3 separate regions of the Homo sapiens genome follow, and regions 2 and 3 are each linked to region 1. The links are contacts of gene promoters, found by promoter capture Hi-C in blood cells and fetal thymus (Javierre and others, 2016). All regions are on one chromosome and are shown on one strand. The core of a region is centred on a gene start or on the middle of the fragment in contact, and the rest is flanking DNA. Distances in the headings are between cores, read along the strand shown.

Region 1 (3,706 bases), core at 412-2,911:
TACATTTTAGAAAATAGATAAATATTGCTGGGCGCAGTGGCTCACGCCTGCAATCCCAGCACTTTGGGAGGTCGAGGCTGGTGGATCACCGGAGGTCGGGAGTTCGAGACCAGCCTGACAAATATGGAGAAACCCCATCTCTACTAAAAATACAAAATTAGCCGGGTGTGGTGGCGCAAGCCTGTAATCCACCTACTCAGGAGGCTGAGGCAGGAGAATTGCTTGAACCCAGGAGGCGGAGGTTGTGGTGAGCCGATATTGAACCATTGCACTCCAGCCTGGGCAACAAGAGCGAAACTCCATCTCAAAAAAAAAAAAAAAAAAGAAAATAGATAAATATTTGTAGTTCTATGATTACTAAATATATCTACACTGACCTATATATACCTGTATAAAGATATATACCTGTACTATACTATATACCTATATTGTCCAGTATCATGTTGCCCACTGTCAAGAAACAAAATTTCATCAAATTTAGTTTAAAGTTCTTGGCCAGGCATGGTGGCTCACGCCTGTAATCCCAGCACTTTGGGAGGCCGAGGTGGGCAGATCACCTGAGGTCAGGAGTTTGAGACCAACCTGGCCAACACGGTGAAACCCTGTCTTTACTAAAAATACAAAAATTACCCGGGCATGGTGACACACTCCTGTAATCCCAGCTACTCGGGAGACTGAGACAGAAGAATTGCTTGAACCCGGGAGGCAGACGTCATAGTGAGCCAAGATTGTGCCACTGCACTCCAGGCTGGGCAACAGAGTTAGACTGTCCTCTGTCTCAAAAAAAAAAAAAAATCGAATTGGCTTTTATTAGTGATTCATGAATCAGGCAGCATCTCATCTATAAAACAGAAAAGTGTTCTAATGAGCTGAGCAGAAGGGGTTGGGCTTATAGGCAGAAAAGGGCTGAAGAAAGCAGAAATAAGGAACAAAAAGCAGATTGGTCATTTTGAAGTTACTTTCCTCAAAGAGTTACATCAGAGGGGACTTCTTTATCATGCCAGCTCAGGTATATGGGCCCCTTCTCCTATTTGTTGGAAAACTGACCCCTTTTAAAGCTGAGTTTAATTACGCAGCACCTAGGACAAGTTGCCTCCATTCTGGTTTTGTCTGCTCTCTTGAGGCCTAGTGCCAGAGTTCTGTCCAAAACAACGACCTCCCATAAACTTTATTTAACACCATTGATCTTTTTTCCTACGTCTAAGTCACCCCAACTGTTATAAATTCCTATTACAAAGGGATCCCTGCTATGCTAATTGCAACCTTTGGGGTCTAACCGTGCTGTACACACACACACACACACACACACACACACACACACATGCTCAACAAATTTATGCTATTTGATAAGAGGCAATTTGACGTCAAGAGAAGAACTGTTTGGCCTAGGCTCTATGCCAAGTCTTGGTTGTGCCACTAACCGTGAAACATACCCTCTCTGACCTTCAGTTTTCTGGCTGCAGACCTATTTTCCCAGGGGTGCCAGGGAGGGAGGATAGGCAACTGGTCCATTCGTTTATCCTCCCCACCTTCCCGGCGCAGCCTTCTCAGGGAAACTCCGCCTCAAGGCTGGGGACTGGAGGAAGGGTGGTGGGGCCACGGTGGCCATCTTTGTGCGGGGCGACCCGCCGCCCACGTGCTGCGGCTCCCGGGCCATCTTTGTGCGGGGCCGCGCTTCCGCCAGCGCCGCAGCGGGGAATCTGCAGTAGGTCTGCCGGCGATGGAGTGGTGGGCTAGCTCGCCGCTTCGGCTCTGGCTGCTGTTGTTCCTCCTGCCCTCAGCGCAGGGCCGCCAGAAGGAGTCAGGTGGGCTCCGGGCAGTGCCGAGCCTGCCCCTTGGGCTCGGGGTCTGGCCGGAGTCCCGAGGCGCTCCCCCGCGCGGCCGGCTCCCGGGAAGATGCCGTGGCCGCTGTAGCTCGGAGCTGGGCAGAAGGCACCGGGGCGCCTTGCGGCGGAGAGTGAGGTGCCGGGGTCTCTGCTCCTGCTCTGGACCCTGGAGAGTAACCCATTCCCCGGAATTCAGAATGACAGGGAGGAGAGGGAATTCCCCGTTCACCCGCAGGAGGCGTGGCCCGTGCTTGGCTACTCTGGACCTGCCTGAAACACTGAGGGGTCGGGGATGGGGGCAAATGTCGTGCGCGCGAGCGTGTGTGTATATGCGTTGCCAGAAGAGAAGAGGGGTTTAATGTCTGTAGCTTTTAACTGATCCTCTTTGTGGAGTTCAATTTGATTAGTAGAAAGTGAGAGTCCGCGTCACTATCCATAGCATTCTGAGGGTTGAGCATTAAGCTTGGGAATTTTCCAGTTTCTTGGACACCTGACAGCCGGATAGAGGAACAGACTTGACGTGAGCGTGGGAGTTGCACACACAAAAATTCCTCCCTAGCGTTTCGTTTCCATCAGTGGGATGGGAAGGGGATTTCTGAAAGTTTTGGTCTTCTGTTTCTTCTGTTGGTGTGGTGTCAGCAAATAACATTCAGGAAAATTTTTTTAACTCTCATTTACTTCACTTTTTAAAGGTTCAAAATGGAAAGTATTTATTGACCAAATTAACAGGTCTTTGGAGAATTACGAACCATGTTCAAGTCAAAACTGCAGCTGCTACCATGGGTGAGTTCTTTTCTTTGATGTGTCTTTGAGAGTTTAGTTGCTGTCACAGGAAGTATTCTAACATCCTTGAGAGATTTTGGTTGCAGTGGTCAGAAAGGCAAGGATGTTTTTCTATTTCTGGGGAATAAAAATGCTCTCGCATGGGAAAGGCTCAGGTGGTGTCAACCTAACCACTGACTCACTGCGGGATTCAGTGCATGTGCATCTGTTTTTCCCACTGGGCTGCAAGCTTCCTGAGGTCAGGGTCTGTGTCTTATTTGCTGTTGTCTCCCTGGTGCTAGCTGTCAGTGCGTGCTCGATAAATATTGTTGAGGAAATAAACCCATCTATCGCTGAATCTAGTCCTAAATTTCCTGATGGTTATCTTTAGAAAATGCACATCAGGCTGGGCATGGTGGTTCATGCCTGTAATCCCAGCACTTTGAGAGGCCAAGGCAGGTGGATCACCTGAGGTCAGAATTTCGAGACCAGCCTGGCCAACATGGTGAAACCCTGTCTCTACTAAAAATACAAAAATTAGCTGGGCATGATGGCACGTGCCTGTAATCCCAGCTACTCGGGAGGCTGAGGCAGGAGAATCGCTTGAACCCGGGAAGCAGAGGTTGCATTGAATCCAGATCATGCCACTGCACCCCAGCCTGGGTGACAGAGTGAGACTCCGTCTCAAAAAAGAGAGAGAATGCACATCAGGGCCGGGATGAGGTATGGTAGAAAGATAACTCTGAAAACAGACTTGGGTGTTGGTGCCGGTACTCCCACTGGTTACCCCTGTGCCGAGCCACTTCAACTCCTCTGGGTCTCAGATTCTTCATCAGCTAAATAACAGGGTCTTTTAAGCTCCTTTTTATGTTATTTTTGACTCCTCAAAAAATTCCTTGGATGCTTATGATACTTATTGAAAACTTACTATGCACTCACTTTAAAAGGAATACAAAATAGTGTAATTTTGGTTACTGCTGTCACGCTACCAGAGTAAGGGCTTGTGGGGGAGAGTGTGGACCAGACAGACCAGAACAAGAGAGTCAGTGCTAGACTGTAAGGCGTAAACTTCACCTCCTGTGGGATTGGGAGGAGATGCCAGGAGGACTGAAGTGACT
Region 2 (3,706 bases), core at 600-3,099, 2.9 Mb after region 1:
CACGTGCCTGTAGTCCTAGCTACAGGGAGGCTGAGGCAGTATTCAAGAATACCACTACCTTCAAACCGTTCAAAGTACAAAGCTTACTACAGATAGGTCAATTTTTCAGTATCTTGGGTTAGTTAATAATGCAATACATATTTAAGATCATGATTTTGGAATTCAACTTTGTAACTAAACAGAAGCACATTTATGACTGAATTGGAACAGATAACTTTAATGGCAACTTGGTCAAAACCAGATCCCTATTCTTGCATTCAGGTGTTAATAATTAGCCCTAGGTCTCTGATATTTGAACATAAAAAGGCAAAACCTCTAAATATTACATCTTCTCTAATGGGCAATGACACTAGAGCAGGTACTATAATTAATCCTCCCTCCAAGCTTCCATACGTCCTGTCCCACAAAAATAGTAAATTGCACCAAGTATGTTTTATCAACTAAATAGCTCTTCTGCACCTTCTTCTCTCCCACAAAAACTCTACTTACAAAAGTAGGAGAGGAATGGCAGAAGCTGGAAACTGAGTTCAGGGAACTGCTACAAGATTGTTACAATCCTTATCCACGCATCCCGAGCTTTACCACAGCAGATTACCCAGAGCTTCCCAGACAAGGCCGGAGAGCCGCGGAGAGAACTATGACCCCCCTCCTCCCTCCTCCTACAGAGCAGCCTCGCTCCCTAAGGCCAAACCCGCGCCCCCCATGACCTCCAATGGCTCGAGAAAAGAGCTTTGAATTGCCCGCTTTTTCCAAAGCTGGTTCATACTCCCTCGCAAAGCAGGGAATAGGGTCTGGGGACAAAAGGAGGCACATGCCTGCCACATGAGGAAAACCCCATCACCTGGAACTCGGCGAACTCCTCACAGTTCACACCGCCACTGGGCGCCGCCATATTGGACAAACACGAGGACCCCGCTGCAGGCCAATCACCGCGGAGCAAAGGTGACCGCGGAGTCGCCTGACAAAAAATATAGTACGAGGGGAATCCTTAGGAAAGCTGAGTGCAAGGCTTGAGTTCAACGTGGTCCGCATCCACCTCGGAACCTGTCACCCTGCTGTCCCAACCCTTTTAACATGTCCTCCTGGAACTGGGCCAGATACATGGATCAAAGATTGTCAGACCTTGAAGGGACTGTTTACTCCAATCCCATCTTTTCACAAAAGGGAAACAATTTCCTTGTGGTTCCCCTACCAGGTCGTTGAAGGAAATCTAGGCAAGTGAGGCCTTTCTAATACCTCTCACTCCAGTGCCTAACCTCCTCCCCGGACCCTGGAGCAGGGGGGTCTTTGTTAAGAATTTGGGACCACTAAGAAACGTCAAGAAAAAACGGCATTTCTGGCAGTGTGGGTGGGTATGAGTAAAGTGTTTAGGATGGAGATGATCAAATGTTTTTAGAAAATAGGTAAATAGAAAACAAATTGAAAACATACATGTTAATTTCTCAGATTAGCCTGAGGGATGCTCCAACAAGAGATAGGGCCACTGAGCAGAGTCCAATTATGTGTTTTCTGATAAAAGCATATGTTCATTGAAAACACTGGAAGAGCGGCATACTGGAATACTGGTTTATCTGGTGTATTTCGGGAGTTTACAGATCACGAAAGTTGCACATTTCCTTTCTATTTCACACAGGTACTCCCATGGGTACATATCCGCTAGGGCAAGGGCCCACGGCGCCACACTCCACAGGACCATCTCCGAGGCTGGCTCAGGATGCGGCGCCAGGGGCACTAGGCTGGCGCCGCGGGTCTCCAGCGCGTGGCGCACGTCCTACACGCCCCGCACTGGCGCAGGCCTGTACACCGCGTCGCGCACGCCCCGCCCCCCGGCGCCGCCTGCGTCCTTCCCACTCCAACGCTGGGTGACATTGAGCTCACCAGCGCCACCGTCCCCGGCGAAGTTCTGCGCTGGTCGGCGGAGTAGCAAGTGGCCATGGGGAGCCTCAGCGGTCTGCGCCTGGCAGCAGGTGAGACGCCGGTCGGGATATGGGAGGTAGGGGAGCTGGCCCGGCCGCTGCGGGTGGGGGAATCCTGAAGCCTTCCTGGGCCCCGGAGTGGCTCCATTCCATGACGCACTTTCTCGGTTCCTCAGAATCCTACCTACTTAGTAGCCATGTGGGAGGGAACTAGGTGAGCAGCTGCTGATAGGCATTGGAGACTGCCCGTGAATTACCCTCATCTCCATCCACCCAGCTCCCACCAACTTAACTGCCCACGCGCCTACCCTTCTCCCCACCCCCGTCCTCAGCCTCCCCTGAGCTCAGTCTGTAAAGCACCTACTATCCCTAGACCTCCCCTTTACCCATGCATTCAGCTTTCCACCCTAACCTCCCCTATCTATTGCTCTCCTTGAGTCTTCCCTCTTCCCCCTGCTCCTTCCTCTCTGGAGTTTATCCCAGAAAACCTCCAGTCTGAAGTTTCCCCACTCATTAAATGTCTGATTAGGCCAAGGATTTAGGTCTTAGAGATTAATAATAATTGTTTTCTTAAAATGGAGGATACATTACTTTTAAACACTTATACAATTAATTGATTCGAATTTCTTGGAGGAAGTGTGTAATTGAAGGATCTGCAGTTTGTTTTGGTGGTAGACATTTGTGTGATGACTATTTTGGACTTAGGTAATGAAAGCTTAATTCTTTTTTTTTGGGAGAACCAGCAGAGCCTTGGCATAGTAGGGGTTGAGAAATCAGAGGGCTTGCATTTTGACTCTTTTCTGGGTACCAGAGATCTTTTGTTCAATGGCACACACTACATTATTAAAAAGTTGTTAATTAAATTTTTAAAGGAAAAATAGCCCCAAACTTGGCTATTCAAATAATATAAATATATATTGTAATGTAAATGAAGTAATGCAAAAAAAAAGAGTGAATGTTGCATAGTTTCACAAGTTTGATACATAACCTTCCCCACCTCAAGATTATCCTTTACACAGCTTATCTAGTGTTCCGGTAGAGAATGGACTGGAAAACATGTCTCAAACTAGAGAGTATTATTATATTTACTTCCTTTAAAAGCAAACACTTCTTCCACTAAAATCCTCAATACTATGATTTCATTGATTTTGTCAGTTTTGTTGAACTAATTCACCTAAAATATCTTCTGTACATCCTATTAACATTATGAAGCTTTTCAACAAGGCAAGTGAAAGGATCATTGCTCTGTAAAAAAGTTAAAATGGACTGCATGAAAAGAACTTTGACATCTTGGAACTACTTTGACATCTTTGAACTAATACTGAGTATATTGTAAGTAGTTCATCTTCTTGCTTTGAGAATATATTTATGCATCTTGCATAAATATATTTTTGCATCTCTGCAAACTTCTGATGTGTAAAAACTTCACTATTGACCACTTAACCAAAGCAGAATTCCTTGAGTGATTTAAGAACAATTTATTTTACTTCAGATATAAAATTTTTAATAGCACACTAAGGATGTTATATGAGCAGCTCTCTCCATATGATCTTCCACGAATGTCTGATGCTTTGTGAGCAACTCCGCAACAACCTACTACCTTTCACCCACTTCATAGCTAAATACTTTCATATACATTATTTTGTTGGATGGATTTCTCATAGCAGCCCTCTCAGGTAAGTCTTATTCCTCCCACACTTTATAAATGAAGAAACATAGGTCAGAGATGACTTGTCCAGGATCTCTTTGCCAAAAAATGTTAGAGCCAGGAGAGGGTACCCTTTAATTCT
Region 3 (3,706 bases), core at 439-2,938, 2.3 Mb after region 1:
CTTAGATTGAAAAAATACTGGAGCCTCTTAGTTGTTCGTCTAGTTTCACCTTTTGATTTTGTTGATGAAAAATAATTAACCACAGAAGTAACTTGCCCAAAGTCAAACAGCGACTTAGTGATGGAACTCGGACTAGAACCCGGTGTCAGTATGAAAGAGGATCAGCAATGTCTGTAAGGACATGATTGTGAGAGAGAGAGTAGTGAATACTAGGAAGGTGCCTCTTACAAAGTGGAGCCTAAGCCAGGACCTAAGCAAAGATTGAGAGTTGAGGGCTCAGGCTCTGCAATGAGTGTCAGTGAGGAGCTCCAGCAAAAGACTGAAATCACTCATGCTTTCCTTAAACCCCTAAGGAAAGGGAAGGAAAGTAGCCAGTTTCCAATGAGCTGTCATTTCAGGCACTCTCTTGGCAATAAGAGTAATGTTAGTTTGAATTTATTGAATCTTGCTGTGCACTCAGCTGGCCCATTGTATGTATACTCATCTTAATGATTACATAACTTCACAATTCAAACATCAGCTAAGTAAGGCCTTTCCTGGCTGCCCATCTTACGGAACTGGAGGTCATTATTCTAAGTGAAATAAGTCTGGCACAGAAAGACAAATATCCCATGGTCTCACTCATGTGGGAGCTTAAAAAGTTGATCTCATGGAGTAGAGATAAGTACCAGAGGCTGGGAAGGTGGAGTTGGGGGAGGGAGGGAAGAGATTGGTTAATGGGTACAAACGTAGATAGAAGGAATAAGTTCAAGTGTTTGATAGCACAGTAGGGTGACTATAGTTAACAATATGTTATATATTTCAAAATAACTAGGAGATTAGAAATGTTCCAAACACAAAAATGATAAATGTTTGAGGTGATAGATATCCTAAACACCCTGATTTGATCATTACACATTGTATGCATATATCAAACTACCACACCCCATAAATATGTACAAATATGTATCAATACAAACATAAATAAAATTGCAATTTCCTGCATGCACTATATACTTCTTCTTTGCTTCTTTTTCCCCTAAGCATTTTGCCATCTAAAGTACTATATATTTCATTTATCTGGTATCTCTCTTCTCATTAGATTATAAGCTCCAGGAAGGTAGTAATTTTGATCTCAGCTTTATCTCCAGGTCCCAGAAAAGTATAGAGGAGGGCACTCAATATCTGTTAAATTAATAAAGTATATATGATTATCCTTATCTTAAATGTGAGACAATAAGACTTCAGAAGGTTAAATAATTTGCACAAGGTCACATGGTGAGGGGCAGAGACAGAATTTGAATGCTGCAGTACTTAATGAATACATCATATTCTTATATCCCTGATTGTATCCACCCAGCAAAGTCCTAAACCTGCATCAGTCCAACCATTGGTCTCTACTTCTACCTTTGGGGAGCAAAATGCTGCAGGAGACATCAGGACAATGTCATCAGTGACATCAATGTCCTGACCACTGCACATTCAGTTTCCAGCTGAACTCCATCTTCAGCACACTCCCAAATCCTTCTTGTCTTCAGCTTCCTCTCCTATTTGCCACAATTATTCAAACCTTTAACATCCTCTTTAAGTCCCAACCCCGTGTCTACACTTCACACTCCTAGCAGATGAACTTGCTTCTATCTTAGAGAAAATAGAAGCCATCACTGAGAGTCCTATTGTACTCCCTTACACAAAATTTACCTTTCTACATACTTATTTCCACATTCGACCTTAGAATTTACCTTTCAGTTTTAACAGAATGAAAGTTTCTTATGGGAGACGAGATTAGAATTTTTTCTGTCTAGTAGGTCTTCTTATAGCTCTACCTTCTATTATTGGGTGAGCACAGTATGGTGAGAATTATAGTGAACACTAGGGGTGTGAAGGAAGAAAATGAGGTGGAGAAGTTAAAGAGCAAAACATATTATTTCTAAGTTCACTGAAGGACTGGAAATAATTTAGAATGCAACTTAATGGAAGCAATTTAGGCTCTGAGAGGGTGATCAAGATAATAAAAGATAATTAGGGGTTGCCCCAGCAAAAAAGAGGGTACAGAATAGTGGAGGTAGATGGAGCAGCATGTGCATGGACCATTTGGGCAATTTGACATAAGTGATATGACTGAATGGTTAGGCAAAGAGTAGGTCATAAAATTGTGCCATTTTATGCTAAGGGGTTTGGATATGACTCTAAGCTCCAGAGCAGTTAGAGACTGCAGAAATCACAGAAGTGTGGAGTCATTCAGGTGTCCCTTAGAGAGTGATCATTTCCCTAATTGAAAGTACAGGGAGGAAAAGTTGAAAGACAAGAAATGTCACATTCTCTGTGATTTACTGTTGCCCAATTCCCTCTCCCCTTTTTCAGTTCTTTCCTCATCATCATCTTACCTTCCTCTATACCAAATGCAAACTTATTCCAAAACTTTCATGCAGCCTTATTTATTAATGTATCTTCCATACCTAACGTATCTTCAGCATAGTATATACTCAATAAATATTTGTTAAATAAAATATCCAACATAGAATTCTATATGAATAAATCTTAAAATCTTGGAGAAATAAGAAATTGTCTTGAAAAATATAACTTTGAGACATATCAATTATATGCAAAAATATACAATCACATGATCACATCAACCAATGAAGAAAAATATTTTCACAAGAAGAGGGAAGGTGGGGAAAGAAGAAGAGGGATGGTGGGGAAAGAGGAAGGGAGATGAGGGGGGAAAAAGAAGAAGGAAGGAGAGGAAAGAAAGGGGAAAGGAAGACGGAAGGTGGGGAAAGAAAAAGAGGGATGGTGGGGAAAGGGGAAAGAAGAGGGATGGTAGGGAAAGGGGAAAGAAGAAGAGGGATGGCAGGGGAAGAAGAAGAGGGAAGGTGGGGGAAGAAGAGAGGGAAGGTGGGGATAGGGAAAAGAAGCTGAGGAAAGAAGGTGGGGAAAGAAGAAGAGGGAAGGTGGGGGAAGAAGAAAAATCAACACCCATTCATGATTAAAAAAAAAAACTCAGAAAACTAGGAATCGAAGGATATTTACTCAACTTGATAGAAAAATATTGCAGATTCTTAATGGTGAGAAACTGGATGCTTTCCCTCTAAGATCAGGAACAAGGTAAGGATGTCCCCTGTCACTACTCCTAGGTGACATTATACTAAACCTCCTGCCTAATGTAAGACAATAAAGGGAAATAAAAGATATTCATACTAGCAAGTAATAAATAAAACTGTCTTTGTAGATGGCATGATTTTTTATGTAAAAAATATCTAAGAATAAACAAAAACCTCCTGGAATTAATAAGCAATTTTAACGAGGCTACAGGGTAAAAGGTCAATTGCTTTCCTCAGCAAAGAACAATTGGAATTTGAAATTAAAAACACAATACCATTTACATTAGCCTCAAAAAAAAAAGACGAAATAAATACTTAGGCATAAATCTAACAAAATATGTACAGGCTCTATGTGAAGGAAACTAGCAAACCTCTGATTAAAAAAATTAAAATCTAAATAAATTGAGAAATATTCCATATTCCCAGAAAGCATCAGTATTGTTACGATGTCAATTCTTCCCAACTTTATCTGTAGATTCAATAAGATCTCAATCAAAATCTTAGCACATTATTTTGTGGATATCAACAAATTAATTCTGAATTTTATATGAAAAAGTAAAAGACCCAGAATAATCCACAGACTATTCAAGAAGAACAAAGTTGGAGGACTGACGTTACCCAAC

What was found. The method cuts DNA at HindIII sites, captures the fragments that hold promoters and counts their contacts. A CHiCAGO score of 5 or more calls a contact.
Region 2: the fragment with the promoter of FAM162A here is called in contact with the fragment with the promoter of POGLUT1 in region 1 in 3 of 17 cell types (non-activated CD4 T cells, activated CD4 T cells and fetal thymus); the score reaches 6.5 in non-activated CD4 T cells.
Region 3: a contact is called between a fragment that was not itself captured here and the fragment with the promoter of POGLUT1 in region 1, in 1 of 17 cell types (neutrophils). The highest score is 5.1, in neutrophils.

Annotation. Positions count from the first base shown.
Region 1 is chr3:119,467,302-119,471,007 of GRCh38, forward strand. It overlaps POGLUT1 (protein O-glucosyltransferase 1), which reads left to right and starts at 1,662. Exons shown (of 11, transcript NM_152305.3): 1 at 1,662-1,805; 2 at 2,519-2,609. The coding sequence starts at 1,721. RefSeq lists enhancers at 1,326-1,826, 1,519-1,688 and a silencer at 1,739-1,938. The HindIII fragment of the contact is 3,798 bases long and covers 1-2,286 here.
Region 2 is chr3:122,382,333-122,386,038 of GRCh38, forward strand. FAM162A (family with sequence similarity 162 member A) reads left to right here and starts at 1,850. Exons shown (of 5, transcript NM_014367.4): 1 at 1,850-1,967. The coding sequence starts at 1,934. MIX23 (mitochondrial matrix import factor 23) reads right to left here and starts at 899. Exons shown (of 5, transcript NM_001017928.4): 1 at 842-899. The coding sequence starts at 892. RefSeq lists enhancers at 1,661-2,161, 1,985-2,034 and a silencer at 1,745-1,894. The HindIII fragment of the contact is 2,247 bases long and covers 383-2,629 here.
Region 3 is chr3:121,750,193-121,753,898 of GRCh38, forward strand. No RefSeq gene overlaps it. Among named protein-coding and RNA genes, the nearest start is that of GOLGB1, 2.3 kb to the left of the region's middle. The HindIII fragment of the contact is 9,962 bases long and covers 1-3,706 here.